Linked DNA regions of Homo sapiens: region 1 is linked to region 2. Evidence: promoter capture Hi-C in 16 types of primary human blood cells and fetal thymus (Javierre and others, 2016). All regions are on one chromosome and are shown on one strand. Each heading gives the region's core, a stretch centred on a gene start or on the middle of the fragment in contact. The rest is flanking DNA. Distances are from core to core; before and after follow the strand shown.

Region 1 (3,993 bases), core at 869-3,368, 95 kb before region 2:
ACAAAATGGAATGAAACTTTTTTTTTTTTTTTTTTTTTTTGGAGACAGAGTTTTGCTCTCGTTGCCCAGGCTAGAGTGCAGTAGCACAATCTCGGCTCACTGCAACCTCCACCTTCCAGTTTCAATCGATTCTCCTGCCTCAGCCTCCGAAGTAGCTGGGATTACAGGCACCCGCTGCCACACCCAGCTAATTTTTTTGTATTTTTTTTTTTAGTAGAGACGGGGTTTCACCATGTTTGTCAGGCTGGTCTCGAACTGCTGACCTCGTGATCCACCCGCCTCAGCCTCCCAAAGTGCTGGGATTACAGGTGTGAGCCACCACACCCGGTGGAATGAAACTTTTAACATTATATTGATAAATGAAAATATATGAGGTCTTCATTTCATAGTTGCATTTTTTTCAGAAGCTAAAATGGTGCGAATATCCAGAATAACTTCAAATATAAAATTCTTTTATTTTTAGATTTTTTTTTTTTTTGCATTGTTTAGTTTTTGGTTTCTGTGACCTGATGAATGACAAAGTTTTTTCATTTAACATAGAAAGGTTAACTTCAGGCTGTATGTACAGTAATGTACTTTTCAGAGCATCTTGGTAATTAATGTATTTCTGAAACATTCATTAGTCATTCTAAATTTATATGTAAAATTTGATAAGTGTAATTTTCCCAGAGTTACAGGAGTGTCTCAGTTTGAATTTTTTTCTGTTCCTTAGCCGTATATTTAAGATGAGATTTGTATCAAGCAAAAGAAATGTATCTTATAAATTTAAATACATGCCTAACTTATATGAGAGGGTTTATTATTGCTTACTTTCTCTAGAAACCACTTTTATAAGCTTACAGTTTATATCTCTCTTCTAAATACTCCTTGATAGAAAATCTTGTAGAGCAGTTTATTATACTGTTAATTCTGCAAATAAATGGTAATTTCTCCACAGCATTTCGTGACAGCAGTGTATTTTTTTATGGTTTTAAAGTAAGCATTTTGGGCCGGGTGCGGTGTCTCATGCCTGTAATCCCAGCACTTTGGGAGGCCAAGGTGGGCAGATCACTTGAGGTCAGGAGTTCAAGACCAGCCTGGCCAACATGGCAAAACCCTGTCTCTACTAAAAATACAAAAATTAGCTGGGTGTGGTGGCGGGTGCCTGTAATCCCAGCTACTTAGGAGGCTGAGGCAGGAGAATCGCGTGAACCCAGGAGGCAGAGGTTGTAGTAAGCCAAGATCACGCCACTGCACTCTAGCCTGGGCCACAGTGAGACTCTGTCTCAAAAAAAAAAGAAGAAAAGCATCTTACGAAGAAGAAAAATTGTACTTTAAGTTTTAATTTTAAGTGGACTTGAGATCTTTACCGCTGTATTCCTTGGAGTCTCTAAATATGACTAACATTTCCTACCTACTGATGTCTCTGTTTACATTAATTGGCTTGCTCAAGCTCCACAAGTAGCAACTATGATGAAAAGGTCCCTCCAACCTGTGGTCCTTAATTAGGTTTAAGGTTTAAAAGAAGTTTCAAAATGATGTTTATAAATATCCCTTTTCTCTTGTAAAAAACTGCTAAGATTGTGACCACGTGGTTTCAAGTTAAAAGTAAAATAATAAAGTAGCATTTAAAAGTATTAAAGTCAAAAACACAGTTCAGGAAAAAACTAAATGTGAAAGTGTCTCACAGCTGGAAAGTGGTTTATTGGTTTAGGGGAGAAAAGAGCGAATAATAATTTCCTGTGCTTCACTTTTAAATGCATCAGTGATCAGATTGTCAGAAATACACAAGTACAAATATTGAATCTTTTTAAAAACCTTTAAGTTCAACCATCTAACGTAGACATCCCTTAATAGCCGCCTAGAAGAGAGTGAGTGCATCAAGCTTATGCTTGTCCACGTTAGTTGTAGGAAATTCAATACTTTGCACACCAACTTGTAGTACATTTGTTGGACAGCTCTTAACTTTTGATAAGCCAAAATATACTTTTCTCCTTCTCCTGAGTGTGTCTAGTTCTGATTTCTGGTCTACTTATTCCCTCTTTCACATTGTGACTTAAATAGTTCATTTGCTATTTTTTTCTCTAATCTTTTCAAAACTTGTTGCATAAAACCCCCCAGTGCCCTAGTTATAAAGTCATACTTCTTAAAAAGCAAATTTCAAGTACTTGGAATAGTTCTAAATTTTTATACAAGAACTACAATTGTAGGAGATTGCTTTGAGAGGAGAATTCATTTTTTCCAAGGCTGATGCCTCAGTCACTAATGATCTAGTCTGATTTGAGATTATTTGTTCAAAGCAGAGTTTTAGTAAGATGTGGAATTGAGCAAAGTCACATTTAATCTACTGTGGCTCTACTAAACTAAAATATTTTGAGTCATCTTGAAGCTTTATAAAAAGTTATTTCAAAGGGCATAGTAGAATGGTTTCTACTGTTCTGTTTAGGCACAAACATTTTCTGAAACTTCCATCAACTTTTTTCCCCTGACTGCTGCTTTCTGTCATGTCAGAGGATGAAGTTTTTGCTGCTGCAGCAGAAGTACCTAGAATACCTGGAGGATGGCAAGGTCCTGGAGGCACTTCAAGTTCTACGCTGTGAATTGACGCCGCTGAAATACAATACAGAGCGCATTCATGTTCTTAGTGGGTAAGGAAACTGAGTTCTTGAACTCAGGTTAATGGAGGGCCAAAGTTATATTTCTTTAACATTTTTCCAAAATATAAAATCTTGATTATTGCTAAATTCTTAGATATTTGTCTAGGTAAACTCACTCCTGTGTGGATCAACTATTTTGGTCATTCTAGGAAACTGTTCAGATTAGGATAGAGATATATTTAAGTGGGTGAAAGGGAGAAGAAAATATGTATTGCCTGTGAAATGCTATTTTAGAATGTTCTATGAAAACCCTATTACATTCCAAGGACAGCTTTTGTAGTTAAAAACAAAATAAAAATCATATGATATGGATCACAGTAAACAATGACATTTCCAGTATTGGTGCACACTAACTTTTTTAAGTGAATACTTGTCATGTGCCAGGCCCTTGCTAAGCTTTTCACATAAACAGCCTCATTTAATCCTCACATCAACATCAGTCCTTTTTTGGGGGGTGAAGGGTAGAGACAGGGTCTTACAGTGTTGTCCAGTGTGATCTCAAACTCCTGTGATCTTCCCAGAGTGCAGGGATTACAGGCATGAGTCACTGTACCTCGCCACATTAATCCTTAAAATGTTAGAGTACCCAAAGGTTTGATCCTGGGCCTCTTTATTCTCTATCTACATACTCTTTTTAGGTAATCTCATTCTATACCATGCCTTCACATACTATCTGTATACCAGTGGCTCTTAAATTTAGCTTCTCATCTGAACTCCCAATATGTATATCTACTGGCATACCTGACATTCTCCACTTGGATGTTTAATAGATGTCTCAGTTGTATGAGGCTGGTGTGCAGTGGCACAATCATAGATCACTGCCACCTCTAGTTTCTGGGCTCAAGCCATCCTCCTGCCTCACCCTCCTAAGTAGGTAGGATTTCAGGCATGTACCACCACATGTGGCTAATTTTTTCATTTTTTGTAGAGACAGGTCTCGCTATGTTGCCCAGGCTGGCCTTGAACTCCTCCTAACCTTAAGCAATCCACCTGCTTCGGCCTCCCAAGGTGCTGGGTTAATAGGCATGAGCCACTGCACCCAGCCTCAAAACAAAATTCTGGATTCACCCCTTCATGATAAATGCACTCAACAAACTAGGAATAGAAAGGAACTTCCTTGACCGAATAAAGGGCATTAATGAAAACTCACAGGGCTGGCAGTGAAAGACTGAAACCTCTCTTCTTGTGATCAAGAATAGGACAATGATGTCTACTCTTGCTACGTCTGTTCAACATTGTATTGGAGGTTCTAGCCAAGGAAATTAGGCAAGAAAAAGGAATAAAAGATTGAAAAGGAAAAACTATCTCTGTTCAAAGATGTCATGATTTTATATAAAGAAAATTTAAGGAATCCACT
Region 2 (4,019 bases), core at 1,108-3,607:
GGTTCAAGTGATTCTCCTGCCTCAGCCTCCCAAGTAGCTAGGATTACAGGCATGGGCCACCACACCCGGATAATTTTGTATTTTTAATAGAGACAGGGTTTCACCACATTGGTCAGGCTAGTCTTGAACTCCTGACCTCAGGTGATCCACCTGCCTCTGCCTCCCAAAGTGCTGGTAGTATAGGCATGAGCCACCATGCCTGGCCTCAGTGTGTTTTCATTCTATGTTGGACATTTGGCATGCACAGAATTACATTTCATTTTAAAAATTACTGAGCATTGACTACATTTGTACTATATGCTGTAGGGAATCTTTGCTAACATTTAATCAAGCACATAAATACCTAATCAAATTTTTTAAATGTTATAAAAAGTTAGTTATAATTCTTCCACTTTTCCCCACAAGCCTAAAGCGCAGAGCAGAGACTGAAACTGGTAGGCACTCAATAAACACTTGTTGAATGAATGCAAGAAGGCTGGAAAGTCCAATATCAAGGAGTTGTTATTTGGTGAGGGCCTTCTTGCTGTGTCATCCCATGGCAAAAGGCAGAATGGCAACAAAAGAGCCAAATTTTATTCAGCCTTAAAAGTGAAGGAAAGGCCAGGTGCGGTGGCTTATACCTGTAATCCCAGCACTTTGGGAGGCCAAGGCAGGTGGATCACCTCAGGTCAGGAGTTGGAGATCAGCCTGGCCAACATGGCAAAACGCCATTTCTACTAAAAATACAAAAAATTAGCCGGGTGTGGTGGTACACACCTGTAGTCCCAACTACTTGGGAGGCTGAGGTGGTAGAATCTCTTGAACCCAGGAGGCGAAGGTTGCAGTGAGCTGAGATTGCGCCACTGCACTCCAGCCTGGGCAACAGAGCAAGACTCTGTATCAAAAAAAAAAAAAAAAAAAAAAGAAAAGAAAGAAGGAAATTCTAACACATGCTATATGAGGGCATTAAGCTAAGAAACAAGCCAGTCACAAAAGTCAAATACTGGAAGATTCCACTTATATGAGGAAGTTAGTGTAGTCAAAATCATAAAGACAGTAAGTAGAATGGTAGTTGCCAGGGGCTGGGGGGAGGGAGGAATGGGGAGTTATTTTTTAATTAGTATAGAGTTTTAGTTGTACAAGATGAAAAGAGTTCTGGAACTAGATGGCAGTGATGGTTGCATATTATGAATGTATTATCACTAAACTGCACACTTTAAAATGTTTAAGATGGTGAATGTTCTTATATTTTACAACTAAAAAAATAAAAAATAAAACTACACATAGTGAAGAAGTAGGAAATGAAGTTGCAACCAAACGGATCAATATTTTGAGTGGGAAATCTAATACTTAATTCAGTGCTAATTTTTATATTTTTAGTAGAGACAAGGTTTCACCATGTTGGCCAGGCTGGTCGTGAACTCCTGACCTCAAGTGATCTGCCCGCCTCGGCCTCCCAAAGTGCTGGGATTACAGGTGTGAGCCACCGTGCCCGGCCTCACGCCCTTCTCTTAATTCCATTTTCTCTCCCCTCTGCCCCTTAATACACTGCACTTAACCTTGTCATAAGCCAAGGAGGACCTGAAATAAGAATACTCAAAACACGGTTGAAATAAACAAGAAGACAGAAACTAAAGCCAGCATTTTTTTTTTAATGCTTGGTAACTGTCCCTTTGTGTCTCCCTAAGTGCAGGATAAACTTCTTGGGGCAAATACAAACGTTTGATAAAATTCTGGGCCAAGGAGTCCTGCACTGGATATATTCAACAAATTACCTGCCGATGATAACAGCGTAAGTCAAACGAGTTCTAAAAGTAACAAATGACTTAGTTATCTGGATAAATCCGTCCTTCCTTTTCTTTTTCACCTAGCCCTTTTGTCGGGCCTCTAAAATGTAAGATAACTACGTGGGAAAGCAAGCAGCGGCTGGTGGTGTGTTTTTACCCTGATTTTATCACTCCAAGTATCTACCGTGGCTGGTTTTGCGAAGACTAGCTTTGTATCAGAATGAGGTGTGGCTGGAACGCCTGAGGAAAGCAAACCAAGTTTTCCAGAGGACGCCGTTGACAGCGTCTCCGCACACCGCGCCGGGGTAGGAACTTCCTCCCACCTGGTTCGCCCGGCGGGGAACCAATAAAGTTGAGCGCGTTCAAAGGGGTCCTAATCTTCCAGGGTCCACTGGGCAGGCCTGCAAAATAAGGCCCCTAGAAACTCCCTGAGGTTTTCAAGTCTTCTCCCTCTCCTCGGAATTTTTTCCCCTTCATTCGCATTACTTTTATTCTGACGGAAACGGCGCGGGCTAGGCCCCAGGAGGGGCGCATTTCAGGTGCAACTGGCCCGGCGATCGCGGCGGGCAACCCCTACGAGGCCCCCGGTTGACTAGGAGCTGGCGGTCCGAGCTGTGGCTTGGAAGACCGACGCGATGAAGCCCAGACCTGCAGGGTTCGTGGATAATAAACTCAAGCAGCGAGTCATCCAGGTGTGTATTCTGCACCGCTTGGCCTCGCCAAGGGCCCCGATCGCTGCCCCAGGGTGCCACTCCCCTTTTGTCGGGTGGCATCCAGGTGGAACTCAACTAGTCTTCTTTCCCCAGTCTGGGTCTGGGCGTGCGTCTGTTTCTCCTTAGTTGGTGCTGCCGGGGCCTTCCCTACCCACGTTGGTGCGGAGTCTCAGGGAGAAGCCGGGGATGGTGGGAGGGTGCAGCTTGGTAGGGCTGCCCAAGTTGTCTGGTCGTCTTCAGCGCAGATCATTCAGTAGAGTGGAGGTAGCCTTTGAATTTTAACCTCTTTGGCTTGTGAAGTTAGCACAGGAATGGTCTTCAAACGCTCGCATTGTAAGAGGTCCTTGAGAAGGGGTGGCATAAATAATATGTTAATTTCCGTTCTCAAGGAACTTACACACTAAAACGAGATAACATGGGTCTGGCAACAGTAACAGGCACTTTGCCTACGGTTTTCTCATTTTCATGACCATCAGTAAAAAGCAGTGTGTGGCAAATACCTCAGAATGTAAGCAAGCAGTCTGAGTTAAAAGGTGGGAGAGAATTTTCTTCACTTAGGAATTTGTGAGCTACACATTCTCCTTGTTTTTCTTTCACTTCACCAGCCCCTAAACAATCTCCTTTTCGGACCCATCTTTTCCTACCAACTTGTAAATGTTGGAAGTGCTCTGTGCCACTGTTCTCTTACCTCCCCTTCCTCCTCTTTCCTCATACACCTTTCTTATCTATCCATACTTCCTATGTGATCTCATTTAGTGTAATAACCTTTGAGTAGTATCTACATACTCTATTATCTATGTATTTATTTCATTTTATTTTTATTTTTCTGAGACATAGTCTCGCTCTGTTGCCCAGGCTAGAGTGCAGTGGCTGTTTATGGGCACAATCATAACTCACTGCACCCTCGGCCTCCCTGACTCAAGTGATCCTCCCTCCTCAGCCTCCCCAGTAGCTGGGACTACAGGTGTGCACCACCACACCTGGCTAATTTATTATTATTATTATTATTTGTAGAGACGGGGTTCCACTATGTTACTCTGGCTGGTCTCTAACTCCTGGGCTCAAGCGATCGGGCCTCAGCCTCCCAAAGTGCTGGGATTACCGGTGCAAGCTGCTGCACTGGCCTCTGTATATTTATGACTGCTAACTTTATATCTCCAGTCCAGATTTTATCTTGAAGTACAGATTGATATATCCAGCTGCCTAGTCAGCATATCTCCAAATTAAAATGGCCAAGTGGAATTTGTGATTTTTTTCTTCCTTCAAATCTGCCCTTTCTTAGTGTTCTGTATCTCAGTAAATGATACTACCGTTCGTCCTGTTGTTAAGGCCAAAAACCTTAAGGATCATTCTGAGTCTTTCATTTCCTGTATACCATCTGTCAACAGCCTGGTTGGCTTTACTTTCAAAATATATTCCAAGTACTTCTTACTGTCTTTCCCTGTAACCATCTTAGTCCAAACCATCATCTCTACCTTATACTATTACAATAGCCTCCTAACTGATCTCTCTGATTCTGCTTTTACCTAAAGCCTATTCC

What was found. Contacts are between HindIII fragments. The CHiCAGO score rates a contact against its expected background, and 5 or more counts as called.
Region 1: a contact is called between a fragment that was not itself captured here and the fragment with the promoter of NVL in region 2, in 1 of 17 cell types (non-activated CD4 T cells). The highest score is 5.7, in non-activated CD4 T cells.

Annotation. Positions count from the first base shown.
Region 1 is chr1:224,423,152-224,427,144 of GRCh38, reverse strand. It overlaps WDR26 (WD repeat domain 26), which reads left to right. Exons shown (of 14, transcript NM_001379403.1): 4 at 2,491-2,627. Among named protein-coding and RNA genes, the nearest start is that of WDR26, 9.6 kb to the left of the region's middle. The HindIII fragment of the contact is 504 bases long and covers 1,867-2,370 here.
Region 2 is chr1:224,328,510-224,332,528 of GRCh38, reverse strand. NVL (nuclear VCP like) reads left to right here and starts at 2,357. Exons shown (of 23, transcript NM_002533.4): 1 at 2,357-2,458. The coding sequence starts at 2,402. RefSeq lists enhancers at 2,140-2,289, 2,310-2,359, 2,550-2,599, 2,650-2,789. The HindIII fragment of the contact is 14,633 bases long and covers 1-4,019 here.